Linked DNA regions of Homo sapiens: region 2 is linked to region 1. Evidence: promoter capture Hi-C in 16 types of primary human blood cells and fetal thymus (Javierre and others, 2016). All regions are on one chromosome and are shown on one strand. Each heading gives the region's core, a stretch centred on a gene start or on the middle of the fragment in contact. The rest is flanking DNA. Distances are from core to core; before and after follow the strand shown. Region 1 holds the start of ALDH9A1 (aldehyde dehydrogenase 9 family member A1). Region 2 holds the start of TADA1 (transcriptional adaptor 1).

Evidence for each region. The method cuts DNA at HindIII sites, captures the fragments that hold promoters and counts their contacts. A CHiCAGO score of 5 or more calls a contact.
Region 2: the fragment with the promoter of TADA1 here is called in contact with the fragment with the promoter of ALDH9A1 in region 1 in 1 of 17 cell types (M1 macrophages); the score reaches 7.6 in M1 macrophages.

The regions. Positions count from the first base shown.
Region 1 is chr1:165,693,769-165,701,059 of GRCh38, reverse strand. It overlaps ALDH9A1 (aldehyde dehydrogenase 9 family member A1), which reads left to right and starts at 2,498. Exons shown (of 11, transcript NM_000696.4): 1 at 2,498-2,682; 2 at 5,663-5,808. The coding sequence starts at 2,502. It also overlaps the pseudogene CA14P1. RefSeq lists enhancers at 2,063-2,242, 2,107-2,689, 2,533-2,762 and a silencer at 2,313-2,502. The HindIII fragment of the contact is 1,150 bases long and covers 1,517-2,666 here.
Region 2 is chr1:166,872,086-166,879,376 of GRCh38, reverse strand. It overlaps TADA1 (transcriptional adaptor 1), which reads left to right and starts at 3,113. Exons shown (of 8, transcript NM_053053.4): 1 at 3,113-3,217. The coding sequence starts at 3,144. RefSeq lists an enhancer at 2,727-2,776 and silencers at 3,177-3,226, 3,257-3,656. The HindIII fragment of the contact is 11,749 bases long and covers 1-7,291 here.

The sequences.
Region 1 (7,291 bases), core at 1,249-3,748:
AGTTTCCTTTTCTTTTGTAGGGTTATTATGAGCTTCATGTGAGAAAGTAAATGTGAAAGGGCTCTGTAACCTATAAAGCTCTTTCTACATGTTGGATTTTGCTAATGAAAAATAATACATTAATAATCTAATAATAAGGGTGGAAGGAGGGAGAGGATCAGGAAAAATAACTCATGGGTACTAGGCTTAATACCTGGGTAATGAAATAATCTATACAACACACCCCCATGACACAAGTTTACCTATGTAACAAATCTTTACATGTACCCCTGAACCTAAAAGTTAAAAATAATAATTTAATAATAAAAGCACAGATAGGTAAGAGGAACAGCTAGATATTTAAAAGGTAGATATTTTGGAGGAGATCTGTTTTCTTTGGGGAAGGGTCTTACTCTGTTGCCCAGGCTGGAGCAGTGGTGCCATGATCGCTCACTCCAGTCTTGAACTCCTGGCCTCAAGCAATCCTCCACCTCAGTCTCTTGAGTAGTCAGGACTACACGCTTGTGCCACCATGCTCGGCTAATTTTTAAAAATATTTTGTAGAGACAGAGTCTCACTATGTTGCCCAGGCTGGTCTTGAACTCCTGGCCTCAAGCGATCCTCCTGCCACGGTCTCCCAAAGTGTTGAGATTACAGGTGTGAGTCCTGTGCCTGGCCAGAGGTTTGTCAGTCTTATCATCTATGAATTAATTCAATAGACATCACGACCACATTTCCAAAACAAACATCAGGAATTATGATGTGACAAGTCAAAATGCATTGGTTGGGGACAGAATCTTTTAAATAGAAATTGTCCCATAAAATTTGAGACGTATAGTTTCTGTACCTAAATGACCATTCAGTGATCTTGGAAATCTATAGTGCTGCTCGTCACCAACTCCTGATATGTTTCAATTCTGTTTGCAATGGACAATAATAAAATAATATGTGAGTGTGGCCTCAGGTATTCTGAGTTTGGGCACTGCTGTTTCCATCTGAGGACCAAGACCTACACATCTCAGTAGCACTGAAAAAGTGAACAAACTGGTATAGAGTGCCAGAAAACTTGATCAGAATACATTATATATACTCTAAACCTGAAAACCACACTCCCTAATATTGCGCTGGTGAGCTGGCAGGTAAAGGAAAAAACATTGAGAAAGACAGCAGCCCCCAGAAGAGAAACAATCCTAAAAGAAATGTCCAAATTGCCAATTACTTTCTGTTTGTCAAAGTCTCTACTGGAGGTGCATGGAAGTTTGGTGAGAAGAATGAACCTTTGTGCAAGATCCCTCAGCTGACAGACCTGTGAGTGCCTCTGGGTGGCTGCTTTGTCTTACAGAAGGCATTTTGTTTCCTGACACTTTTTCCTGTGGCCTTTGCTCTTCGTATTCTGTATGTTAGGCTTCTGTTTCTATCAATATTTGTCATTAATAGCATTTACATTGCTCCTTCAGAATTTATTTATTTTGAGACAGGGTCTCGCTCTGTTGCCCAGGCCTGAGTGCAGTGGCACGATTATAGCTCACTGCAAGCTTGGACCCCCGGGGCTCAGGGGATCCTCCCACCTTAGCCGCCCAAGTACCTGGGGCCACAGGCGTGTGCCACCACACCTGGATAATTTTTTTTTTTTCTGAGTTTCACTCTTGTCACCCAGACTGGAGTGCAATGGCATAGTCTCGGCTCACTGCAACCCGTCTCCCGGGTTCAAGCGATTTTCCCACCTCAGCCTCCCAAGTAGCTGGGATTACAGGCGCCCGCCACCACACCCAGCTAATTTTTGTATTTTTAGTAGAGACGGGGTTTTACCATTTTGGTCAGGCTGGTCTCGAACTCCTGACCTCAGGTGATCTGCCCGCCTTGGCCTCCCAAAGTGCTAGGATTACAGGCGTGAGCCACCGCGCCCGGCCCAATTTTTATTATTTTTATTTTATTTTTTTATAGACACGGGATCTCTCTCTGTTGCCCGCAAACTCCTGGGCTCAAGCGATCCTCCAGCCTTGGTGAGAGCCACAGCGCCCAGTCTCTCTTTAAGAATTTAAAAAGCAGTTTCAGATCACAATATCATCTATCTCGTTCACAGTCCCCTTGCTTTTTACTGTCACCCTTTAAAAAGCATTATACAATTACAGAAACGGTGGTTTAGCAGTGAAGTAACCACCAAAGACTCTTGGCACTCCAATCCTCTGCCTTCTTCAGGCGATAGGATTAAGAATGGGATCCTAGGATGCTTACATGCAATGATGAACCCGAAAACACTTGCAAAGTGCTACGCAAATATTGATCACGAAGAAGGAAGTCCTCTTCCCGCCTGGAGACTGTGTGGGGTATGGCGGGGTGGTGGGGAGAATGTGGTGTCTTGCTCCACCCTCCTGGCGAGGGGAGGGCCTGGCCTGGACCGCAGAGGAATCGAGTGACTGCCCCTAAAATCTCCTAGAACCGATCCCGCGGCCCCGCCCCTCCCGCGGCCCCGCCCCTCCCGCGGCCCGTCAGCCTCTGCCGCGGAGCTGCGTCCGCCACTCATGTTTCTCCGAGCAGGCCTGGCCGCGCTCTCCCCGCTTCTTCGCAGTCTTCGGCCCTCTCCTGTCGCCGCCATGAGCACTGGCACCTTCGTCGTGTCGCAGCCGCTCAATTACCGCGGCGGGGCCCGCGTGGAGCCGGCGGACGCCTCCGGTACCGAGAAAGCTTTCGAGCCAGCAACCGGTAACTGCAACGAGCCGGGGAGGCTGGGGCGCCCTGGGGCCGGATGCGCGGATTTCCCGGCCAGCCCCCGTTTCCTGTGTTCTGCAGCGTTGACTTGAGCACAAGACAGTGACAGTGGAGAGTCTAAGGTTGTGTGTGTAGGCAACTAGCGATTCTGGGGCAACGCGAGTGCCTCCGGGCAGGGATGGGTAGGGAGGAAAAGCAAAGCTGATGAGTTGCGTGGTAGGATCGTGAGTTGTTTTACCCGGGCCAGAACAGAGTTCGCAAAGTACTGGTGGGGGAAGTCGTGCCTCTGTTAACTTCCTTTTTTGTTTGTTTTGTTTGTTTGTTTGTTTTTTGTTTGTTTTGAGACAGGGTCTCACTCTGTCGCCCAGGCTGGAGTGCAGGGGCACCATCTCAGAGCTCACTGCGCCCTCTACCTTACGGGCTCAAGTGCTTCTCCCGCCTCAGCCTCCCTGGTAGCTGGGATTACAGGCTCCCACCACCATGTCCGGCTAATTTTTGTATTTTTAGTAGAGACGGGTTTTCAGCATGTTACTCAGGCTGGTCTCGAACTCCTGAGCTTAGGTGATCCTCCCGCCTCAGCCTCCCAAAGTGCTGGGATTACAGCCGTGAGCCACCAAGCCCAGCCAACTGTTCCCCCTTTTAAAACCAGGACTGATGTATTATTGTCTTCAAATGTGTGCATAGGAGAGGAATTCTAAAAGAACGGGGCGGGGTTGTGGGGAAGATAATCATTTGTGCTGGGAATGAAGGAACGCTCACAGATAGTTTCTAATGACTACGAATGAGGACTTTGTCTCCACATTCTAATATTAAAATATTTCTGCACATTAATCAGAATTGGGAAAGGAAAAAACCCCACCTTTATTCAGTACTTTCTTCCCCAGCTTTATTGAAGTATAATTAACAAATAAAAATTGTATATACTTAAGGTGTAAAACGTGTTGTAATGTATGTATACCTTGCAAAATGGTTACCACGGTCAATCTAATTATCCATTGCTTCTGCATAGTTAATGGCTTTTTTTGGATAGTGAAATATTTAAGATCTATTCTTTTAGCAAATTTCAAGTATATGATGCAGTATTGGTAACCATAGTCACCATGGTCTACGTGAGCTCTCCACAATTTATTCATCTTGCTGAAATAAAACTTTTTAATCCAGTGCTTAATGTGTGCTAAGCACTGTGCTAGGCACTGGATTTACTCTGGGAACTCTGAAGGTCACAGAGATAAGGAAGAAGGGGCTTTTTGTTTTGGTTTTGTGTTGTGTTTATTTTGCTGGGTTTTATGGAATATATGTGGGGAGAAAAATGTAAATATTTTGTGTAAAATGTAGCCAGAGCAATAAAACTGATTTGCAGGGGACTGGAGAATTTAGTATTTGACCATCCACACTAAACCACAGAGCAGTGACTTGGCAGAGCCAGAAGGCATTATCACATCTCTTCTTTATATAGGAGGAAACAGCTTCTCTACCCCGACTTAATCCTGATACAAAAGAAAGAAAAATTGCTCTTTGCTTTAATTGCCTACAGTGTGTGTGATCCTCAGCCACCGCCTTTACCAGCTGGCTATTCAAGTTTGTAACAGAAATTGCAGATTTGTGAAATCTCCCTGGAAAGAGTCCCAGGAGTTCTTGTGAAGAGGATTTGCTGAGTTGGCAAACTTAAAGAATTCTTGTTGGTAGAGGCAGTACAGTCCTTGGGCTATGGGCCTAGAAAAACTGATTGTTTCATAATTTGCACCAGAATAGGGAGAGGGAATAAAGGTGGAATAAGAAAAGGAAATCTGGGAATTTTTGAGAAAAAAAAAATGTTCCTTTAGGGTTGCCTTATCCTGATATTACTGCTTATTAACTATATTTATCAAGTATCAAGTAGTATGATATAACCTACATAGAATATAGACAAGGGATTTACAGTCAGAGTTTATAACCCAATAGACTGATTACTTTTGACTTTCATTTTACAAGACCCCTGAGATTCTGAGATAATGTTTAGGAGTGTTGCAAAACTTAATCAGAAGTTAATGTTAGTAAACTCAACTGTAAAATAGTAGAGGGCAGGGGTTCTTAACTCTAAATCCTTGATGAGTTTAGGGCAGGGGACATGACATTCCTGTAATTCTGTTATATGTTTAAGTAGATTTTTCTGGAGAGAGGTCTGCAACTTTTATCAGACTCCTAATGTCAATGACCGCAAAATACAGTTAAGAACTGCTAGGCCGGGTGTGGTGGCTCATGGCTGTAATCCCAGCACTTGGGGAGGCAGAGGTGGGTGAATCACTTGAGGTCAGGAATGTAAGACCAGCCTGGCCAACATGATGAAATCCCGTCTCTACTAAAAATACAAAAATTAGCTGTGTGTGGTGGCAGGCGCCTGTAATCCCAGCTACTCGGGAGGCTGAGGCAGGAGAATTGCTGGAACCCAGGAGGCAAAAGTTGCAGTGAGTCAAGATCGTGCCATTGCACTCCAGCCTGGGTAACAAGAGCGAGACTCCGTCTTAAAAAACAAAAAAACAAAACAAAAAAACCTGCTAGTATAGAGATGGTCACTAAATCAAACCATACATAAAAACAAGAAGTTACGGTAGCCCACGCCTGTAATTCCGGCACTTCGGGAGGCTGAGGCGGGTGGGTCACAAGGTCAGGAGATCAAGACCATCCTGGTCAACATGGTGAAACCCGGTCTCTACTAAAAAATACAAAAAATTAGCTGGGCGTAGTGGCGTGCACTGGTAGTCCCAGCTACTCAGGAGGCTGAGGCAGGGGAATCGCTTGAACTCAGGAGGCAGAGGTTGCAGTGAGCCGAGATCGCGCCACTGCACTCCAGCCTGGGTGACAGAGCAAGACTCCATCTCAAGAAAAAAAAAAAAAAAAAAAAAAAGACTACTACTAAGAGAATATTGATAGATAATATTTTATTTAAATATGTGGCAACAATTTGAGTTAAAACTGATGTTTCCGCTCTTTATAGGCCGAGTGATAGCTACTTTCACATGTTCAGGAGAAAAGGAAGTAAATTTGGCTGTTCAAAATGCAAAGGCTGCTTTTAAAATATGGAGTCAAAAATCTGGCATGGAGCGTTGCCGAATCCTTTTGGAGGCTGCCAGGATAATAAGGGTATGTTCCAATTTATTTCCTTCCAGAACTCAGACATTGCTCTGAGGTTTCTTTGTGATGTTTGCAGTTCGACTTTGTTGCAACATTAGGCCGTAACGTTTTTATAAAATGGAAAAACATTTCCACATGCTCACCTTAGTATATAAAACAAGTTTTTGTTCAATACTTCCCATCTGGATGTTGGCTCTTGGACATCTCCTTTGGCAGGTTTTCATGTTTGTAAAGCTTTGTTTTGAATTATAATGCACTCTTTATAGCTCATCGTCCTTTTTTTATTTTTATTTTTTTTTTTTTTTGAGACGGAATCTTGCTCTGTCGCCCAGGCTGGAGTGCAGTGGAGTGATCTCGGCTCACTGCAACCTTCGCCTCCCGGGCTCAAGCAATTCTCCTGCCTCAGCTTCCCAAGTAGCTGGGACTACAGGTGTGTGCCACCATGCCTGGCTAATTTTTGTATTTTTCGTAGAGATGGATTTCACCATGTTGGCCAGGCTGGTCTTGAACTCCTGACCTCAAGTGATCCACCCACATCGGCCTCACAAAATGCTGGGATTACAGGCGTGAGCCACTGTGCCCAGCCTTTCTTTCTTTTTAAACCATGTGGTTTACTTGTTTCCTTTTTATTCTTTATTTTGATGATTCTCAAGTCTACCTTTCTTTTTCAGATTTGTTTTCAGATAGGGTTTTAAGTATCGTTACTTTAATTGGGAAGATTTCATAGATTTGTAGATGTTCCCTTTAAAAAAAAGAGAGTTAAACTTTTTTTTTACATCATAAATATATACAATTTTTATTTGTCAACTAAAAAAAATTGTAAAAACAAGTATTTAATACTCATCGCAAAACATAAAAAGCCTGCAATGCAAAGGGTTTCTGTGGTGTAGTAGTTACCACGCTGGCCTAACACACGGAAGGTCCTCTGTTTGAAACTTGACGGAAACAAAAGGTTTCTTTTGTTTCCCAGAATCTGACCAGGCTGCCTCTTCCTGGGAGTCCAGAGCTGCGAGGAACAAGTGATAATCCTGCCTCCTTTTTTTTTTTTTTTTATACTTAAGTTCTAGGGTACATGTACACAATGTGCAGGTTTGATACATAGGTATACAAGTGCCATGTTGGTTTGCTGCACCCATCAACTCACCATTTACATTAGGTATTTCTCCTAATGCTATCCCTCCCCCAGCCCCCCACCCCCTACGGCCCCGGTGTGTGATGTTCCCCACCCTGTGTCCAAGTGATCTCATTGTTCAATTCCCACCTATGAATGAGAACATGCAGTGTTTGGTTTTCTGTCCTTGTGATAGTTTGCTCAGAATGATGGTTTCCAGCTTCATCCATGTCCCTGCAAAGGACATGAACTCATCCTTTTTAATGGCTGCATAGTATTCCATGGTATATATGTGCCACATTTTCTTAATCCAGTCTATCATTGATGGGCATTTGGGTTGGTTCCAAGTCTTTGCTCTTGTGAATAGTGCTGCAATAAACA
Region 2 (7,291 bases), core at 1,864-4,363, 1.2 Mb before region 1:
CTATAATAAAAGATTTAGAATTAGTTCCTTTAAAGTAACCTTCCAAATTACAAGTGGTTTTAATATTCATTTCCTTTCAAAAAAATTTGTTTTTTAAAGTTGAGGTCTCACTCTGTTGCCTAAGCTGGAGTGCAGTGGTGCTCTCATAGCTCACTGCAGACTTGAACTCCTGGGCCCAAGAAATCCTCTCACTTCAGCCTCCCCAGTAGGTGGGACTACAGGCATGTGCCATCACCCCTGGCTTGGTATTCATTTATAATATTGTGTCCGGCATTGGTTCCTTCCAGTGGGTTCTTGGTCTCGCTGACTTCAAGATGAAGCTGTGGACCCTCGCGGTGAGTGTTACAGTTCTTAAAGATGGTGTGTCCGGAGTTTGTTCCTTCAGATGTTCATATGTGTCCTGAGTTTCTTCCTTCCAGTGGGTTCGTGGTCTCGCTAACTTCAGGAGTAAAGCTGCAGACCTTCACAGTGAGTGTTACAGCTCGTAAAGGTAGTGCAGACCCAAAGAGTGAGCAGCAGCAAGATTTATCATGAAGAGCGAAAGAACACAGCACCCACAGCATGGAAGGCCACCAGACTGTATTCCCGCTGCTGGCTCAGGTGCCCAGCTTTTATTCCCTTATTTGGCCCCGCCCACATCCTGATTGGTCCATTTTACAGAGTGCTGATTGGTGCATTTACAAACCTTTAGCTAGACACAGAGCGCTGATTGGTTCGTTTTTACAGAGTGCTGACTGGTGTGTTTACAAACCTTTAGCTAGACACAGAGCGCTGATTGGTGCGTTTTTACAGAGTGCTGACTGGTGCGTTTACAAACCTTTAGCTAGACACAGAGCGCTGATTGGTGCGTTTTTACAGAGTGCTGACTGGTGCGTTTACAAACCTTTAGCTAGACACAGAGCGCTGATTGGTGCGTTTTTACAGAGTGCTGACTGGTGCGTTTACAAACCTTTAGCTAGACACAGAATGCTGATTGGTGTGTTTTTACAGAGTGCTGACTGGTGCGTTTACAAACCTTTAGCTAGACACAGAACGCTGATTGGTGTGTTTTTACAGAGTGCTGATTGGTGCGTTTACAAACCTTTAGCTAGACACAGAGCGCTGATTGGTGCGTTTACAATCCTTTAGTCAGAAAAGTTCTCCAAGTCCCCACCCAGCCCAGAAGCCCAGGCGGCTTCACCTCTCAATATTAAATTGTTTGGTCAGATGTCCATTTATGTATATTATATTGTCTAACATTACAGTTTAAATGGACATTTAACTGAAAAACTGTAGTAAAATTAGTGTTAATAGGTGTATAAGTGCTGAGAGAGAAAGGGATATTTAATTGAGCTAGACGTATGAGTATTGTCAAGCATGGGTTCAAAAAGAAAATCTTTGAGGCCTATCTTTCTTCGTGGCTAGAGACAAATGAGAAACAGGGATTCTTCCTGGAAGATGTACCCAACTATCTGTAGCCTTTCCTAGTCCTGTTGACTTGATCCTTGAATAGATTCATATATATGTTTGAACCTGATTCAAAAAAAATGGAGGTAGCCAACCATAAGTCTCAAAACCAGCAGAGAGGAGATATGCGTAAAGGGGAAGAGCCATGTGATTTGTTAAAGTCAAGTTAACTAGAATGCTGAGTCCAAGTGTGGGGTTATGTGGGAAGGCCAGTGGTGTGTGAGGTACACAGGTAGGGTGAGTTCAGATCATGAGAACATTTGAATGCTGGAGTCTGGAATTTGTTCAGCAGAGCGTGGGGAGCCATGGAAAACTTAAGTGGATATTTTTTAAATGTGTCAAAACTTACCCAGAGTTTTGACACAGAGAGGAAGACTTTGCCTGACCTTTGTATCTCCTTTCACCTGTGTATCTCCAGTACTCAAAGAGTTCCAGACACATAATAGGAGCTCACTGTATGAATTCAAGTGAAGAGAAGGTGCCCGGCTGGCATTGCAGCCAGGACAGGGCTTGTGGGTTTAGGTTGGGCAGTGAGGAAGTTGAATGAATGAACTTAAGGGGACATCTTTGGAGAAATTACACAAGATCTAAAAGCTATCTAGGATTATTTAAAAAACTTTGGGAGGCAATTTGACAATATACACCAAGGCATTTATAAATATTCCCATCATTTGATCCAGTAATTCTATGTGTGGGACTCTATGCTAAAGTAATAATCCTAAAGGAGGAAAAGTTTTATGCATAAAGAAGTTTTGCTTCATTATGCTATATGCTTCAAAAGCAATATTACAGTATTGCTTTTTAATAGAGAAGAAATGGACACAGTCTAACAATTGGGAAACAAGTTGTGTACCTTCTATCTGTGGGGGTATTTAATATGTTGTCATTAAAATTATTCTAAAGACAATGTAATACTACAGATAAATCCTTAAGTTTAAAAACGTGCAAAATTGAACATAGAATATTTTAAGTCATGGGAGTGTGCGAAGTGAAGGAGAAATCTCTCTCAGTTAAGTGTTTGTCCGGGAGTGGTAAAACACTTTTTCCTTCTTTTTATCTTTATCTTTCTGTGTATTTTCCAAATTTTACATAGTTACCTCATTTACTCAAATACTTATTAAGCATCCACTATGTGCCAGGCGCTGCTCTAGAGAATTGCGGGTAACAGTGAATAAAACACAACTCCTGTCCTCGAGCCATAACATTTACAAGATAAATCAACTAAATGTCATATGAGACGGTTAGTGCTCGGGGAAAAATAAGGCAAGGAAAGAGTAAAACTGATACTGCATTTACTTTTTTAAATGGAGGGGTAAGGTACTCCTCCAGGCAGAAGAACAGCAGGCTGAATTCGGAATTGCCCCAGCGGTAACAGAATGAAAGAGCTTGGGACACGCCAGCCTGTCAGCAACGTTGCAGCCGAGGCGGGGCGCGCGGGTTTAGGATGGGCGCGCGACAAGGTGAAGCGGATCACGTGACTCGAGGGGCGGGAGGAAGAGAGCAGAGTTTGGCCGGGCACCTTCCCTGCGAAAAGGCGGGCGGAGCCGAAAACCAAACAAACGACTTCTGAGAGATTGGGGGCGGGACTGACGGCGGCCGGCTTAGCTTCCAGAGCCAAGGCCTTCCGCCGAGTTGGTTTTTGGGTTGTTGATCGCGGTGGCCGGGCGGTCTGCGGTCGGGCTGAGACACGCGGAGCAATGGCGACCTTTGTGAGCGAGCTGGAGGCGGCCAAGAAGAACTTAAGCGAGGCCCTGGGGGACAACGTGAAACAGTAAGAGCTGCCCTAGCACAGCGTCCAGGCCAACACGCGGGTGCTCTCCTGGCCTCGGGCTGCCAGCCCGCCCCGGAGACGCCCGCGTCGCCCGGGGGCCTGTGCAGCCTGGAGTCCGCGGCGGCGGGGCTTCGGGGTTTCTCCGGCCGGGGCGGGGCGGGCCACCTGAACTCACCGCCCTGGAGAGACCGGGCCTCCTGGGCGCCCGGGAGACATCGGCGGGCGCCGTTGCTCGGGACTGTCTGCCCTGGGTGGGGCGGGAGAAGCGCACTTCGCACCCAAGGGCCTGCTGAGCAGGTGCGGGCCCCAGCGCGGGCGTGCGGGATGCGGGAGGCTGACTTGGGCGGAGTGAGCCGGAGCCCTACGCGTCCAGCCAGAGGGCATAGCGCAGGGCGGCCCGCCCCTGGAGGGCTTCCTGGAGGTGGAGGCCTGTTGAGCTGGTGTGATCTGCTACGGATTATTGGTAAGCTCTTTTGACAGCAATTTCGTAAGGCAGACGGACCCTCTGGTGAAATCACAGTCATTGAACACTACAATTATAGTGATGATAGCAGTAGCGGACATTTTAAACATTTTAAGCTCTCTAAATATATTATCTAATCCTTACAACAGATGTGAGATAGGTACAGTTGTTATTCCCATTTGACAGATGAGAAGACTGAGACCTAGTGCGGACAAGTAACTCTTCAAAAGTCACTGTCAGAGTTGGGACCCACGCTTTTGATTCCCGACTGATGCATTAGAGGGGCTGTAAAGGATCCCAGAGACGCTCAGCCAGACCTTCATCCAGGTTATGGCAGGGGACCTAGTGCACAGTCAGGTTAGGTGCAGAATGGCCAAGGGTAAAATCAGTATCCAGTCAAAGCCAAAGCCAAAGAGCAAAAAAGGAACCTCTGGGATACAAGGAAGAGTTTGGAAATTTTCAAAACGTTGTTATTACAACTTTATTTTTCAAAAATATAGGAAGCAAATATAAACGTTTAAAATTACAGTGCCTGTGTTGTTGCTGCTAGATGGCTTCTCTGGTATTCTACACATTTGCATTACTCAGTGGATGCATACTTTTAAATGATGTTGGTGGAGGAGCAATTTGGGAATACTTAATTTTTCTCCAATACTTTCTTTTCATCCTTCTCTGTTCTTTATTATTACTGGATTGAAATTACTTAGGTTGGATGTCATACATGAATTTTGGAGTTTTTCCTTCATGTGAAATTTTGGGGTGGCAGAGTTGACAGTCTACTTTTCATCCTAACAAGATAATAATGGAAACTATAAAAAGATTAAAATTAAAATCTAAACTGTTATTTTAGCATAATTATTTAATTTTTGGTGAACATTTATTTACGCCCAGAGATATGTTTCACTTTGTGTTTGGGGGTTGGGGTCTTGCTCTGTGGCAGAGGCCGAAGTACAGTGGCCTGATCACACAGTTCACAGCAACCTTGATCTCCTGAGCTCAAGAGATCCTCCCCTGCTGTGAGCCTATAACTGGGACTGTAGGCACGCCCCGCTAATCCTGGCTAAAGTTTTTTTTTTCAGAGACAAAGTCTTGCTGTGTTGCCCAGGCTGATCTCAAATCCTGGCCTCAAGCAGTCCTCCCGCATTGGCCTCCCAAAGTTCTGGGATTACAGGCATGAGCCACCACACCCGACTATAGTGTACCACCGAAAATTGTCTTTCGATATTGATGTTCACTGTGCTTATTGAATTAAATATTCTTACTTATTTTAATAGGTAAAATTGACAGCTTTCACCCTAATTACTGTAGCTTTTTACTTTTGTAATACCGACTGATAAAATTTACCTTTTTTTTTTTTGAGATGGAGTCTTGCTCTGTCGTCCAGGCTGGGGTGCAGTGGCATGATCTCCGCTCACTGCAGCCTCCACCTCCTGGGTTCAAGCACTTCTCTGCCTCAGCCTCCTGAGTAGCTGGGATTACAGGCACCTGCCACCACGCCCGGCTAATTTTTGTATTTTTAGTAGAGATGGGGTTTCACCATCTTGGCCAGGCTGGTCTTGAACTCCTGACCTCGTGAGCCACCCGCCTTGGCCTCCCAAAGTGCTGGGATTACCGACGTGAGCCACCGCGCCCAGCCAAAATTTACATTTTTAAGCACATAAGGGGCATTTCACTCTGTTCCATCTAGAATGCTTACAAATATTTGAAAGCAAACGTTTACATACCAAAATAAATCTGAAGGACCTGGCTTGTGTATGATTGCCTTTAACCCTGATTAGATGCAATGGTGACCTCTGTCATCCCATACTCATCAGTTACAGGTTCAGGGCTGCCAAAAGTGTTTTTGAAGTTAGCATTCCTTATTTAGTTTTTAAAGGCCAAAGCCGACTGTCTGATGTTGGTCAAATACTGATGCTGAAGCTAAATTTGGTGCATCTGGAGTGTGAATCCCCACTAAAATGCAATCAAAAGAGATTTTTATGCCAGAAACAGTTAATGGTAACGTATAGTTCTAAATTTGTTTTTCCATTCTCTCATTGTTCTTTTCCCTTCTCCTTAAAAAGTACCTCTGGGTTAAATAGTCAGTAATACTCTTGTACTGTACAGTCATTTCTTATATTTCCTCCATGAGCAGTTTGCTTTGGTTTGCACAACCTATTTAAGTGTGGTCCTCGGTGGTAGGCAAAACATACAGGGTTATGCACGGAGGCTGGATATGAGTTATTTGCTATTTATCCAGTGGTCTGAACATCCTTCATGTCTGACTGGTTGGGTTGTGTGCCCAAGCTGCTTCCAGGAAGACATGGGCTTTGCTAGGCAACTCACTTTGTATAGTAGCCAGTAGAATGCCATGTTCAAATAGGTGCCTGATTTCTTTTGAGGATTTGATCATATGTTATTTATTTATGCATTTATTTATTTATTTTGAGAGAGAGTCTCACTTTGTCACCCAGGCTGGAGTGCAGTGGTGCGATCTCGGCTCACTGCAACCTCCACCTCCTGGGCTCAAGTGATTGTCCTGCATCAGCCTCCTGAGTAGCTGCGATTACAGGCGCCCACCACCATGTCCGACTCATTTTTGTATTTTTAGTAGAGACGGGGTTTCGCCATGTTGGCCAGGCTGGTCTTGAACTCCTGACCTCAAGTGATCCACATCCCCCTTGGGCTCCCAAAATGCCAGGCTTACAAGCGTGAGTCACTGCGTCCGGCCATGATCATATGTTATTTAATATTCTTTAGGTATATCCAGTGCTTCGTAATCTGACCCACTTATACTTCTACCCATTGTCCTGACCTTCACAGGGATTGATTGGCTTTGTTTTTGGTATTTGTCCTTAGTCTGTGTTGCTATAAAGGAATAGTTGAGGCTGGGTAATTTATAAAGAAGTTAGTTTGGCTCACAGGTCTGCAGACTGTACCAAAAGCATGGCACCAGCATCTTCTGGTGAGGGCCTCAGGTGGCTTCACTCATGGTGGAAGGTGAAGGGAACCTGCATGTGCAGATCACTTTGGTTTTTTTTTTTGGAGACAGAGTTTTGCTCTTGTTGCCCAGGCTGGAGTGCAATGGCACTATCTCGGCTCACTGCAACCTCTGCCTCCTGGGTTCAAGCGATTCTCCCGTCTCAGTCTCCCAGGTAGCTGGGATTACAGGTGCGTTCCACCACACCTGGCTAATTTTTGTATTTTTAGTAGAGACAGGGTTTCATCATATTGGTCAGGCTGGTCTCAAACTCCTGACCTCAGGTGATCCGCCCGCCTTGGCCTGCTAAAGTCCTGAGATTATAGGCATGAGCCACCGCGCCCGGCCTGCAGATCACTTTGTGAAAGGAAACAAGAAATGGGGAAGGTGCCAGGCTCTTTTTAAACAACCAGCTCTTGGAGAATCTCTTGCAGGAACTCACAGAGTGAGCGAGCTCTCACTCATTACCACCAGGAAAGATAACACCAAACCATTGGTGAGGAATCCTCTCCCATAACCCAAACACCTCCCATTAGGCTCCACCTCCACCATTGAGGATTAAATGTCATCATGAGGTTTGGTCAAATATCCAAACTATAGCAGTATTGTTGAGGGAAACAGTCATTTGTCTGTGGCTATACAGTGAGTTAAC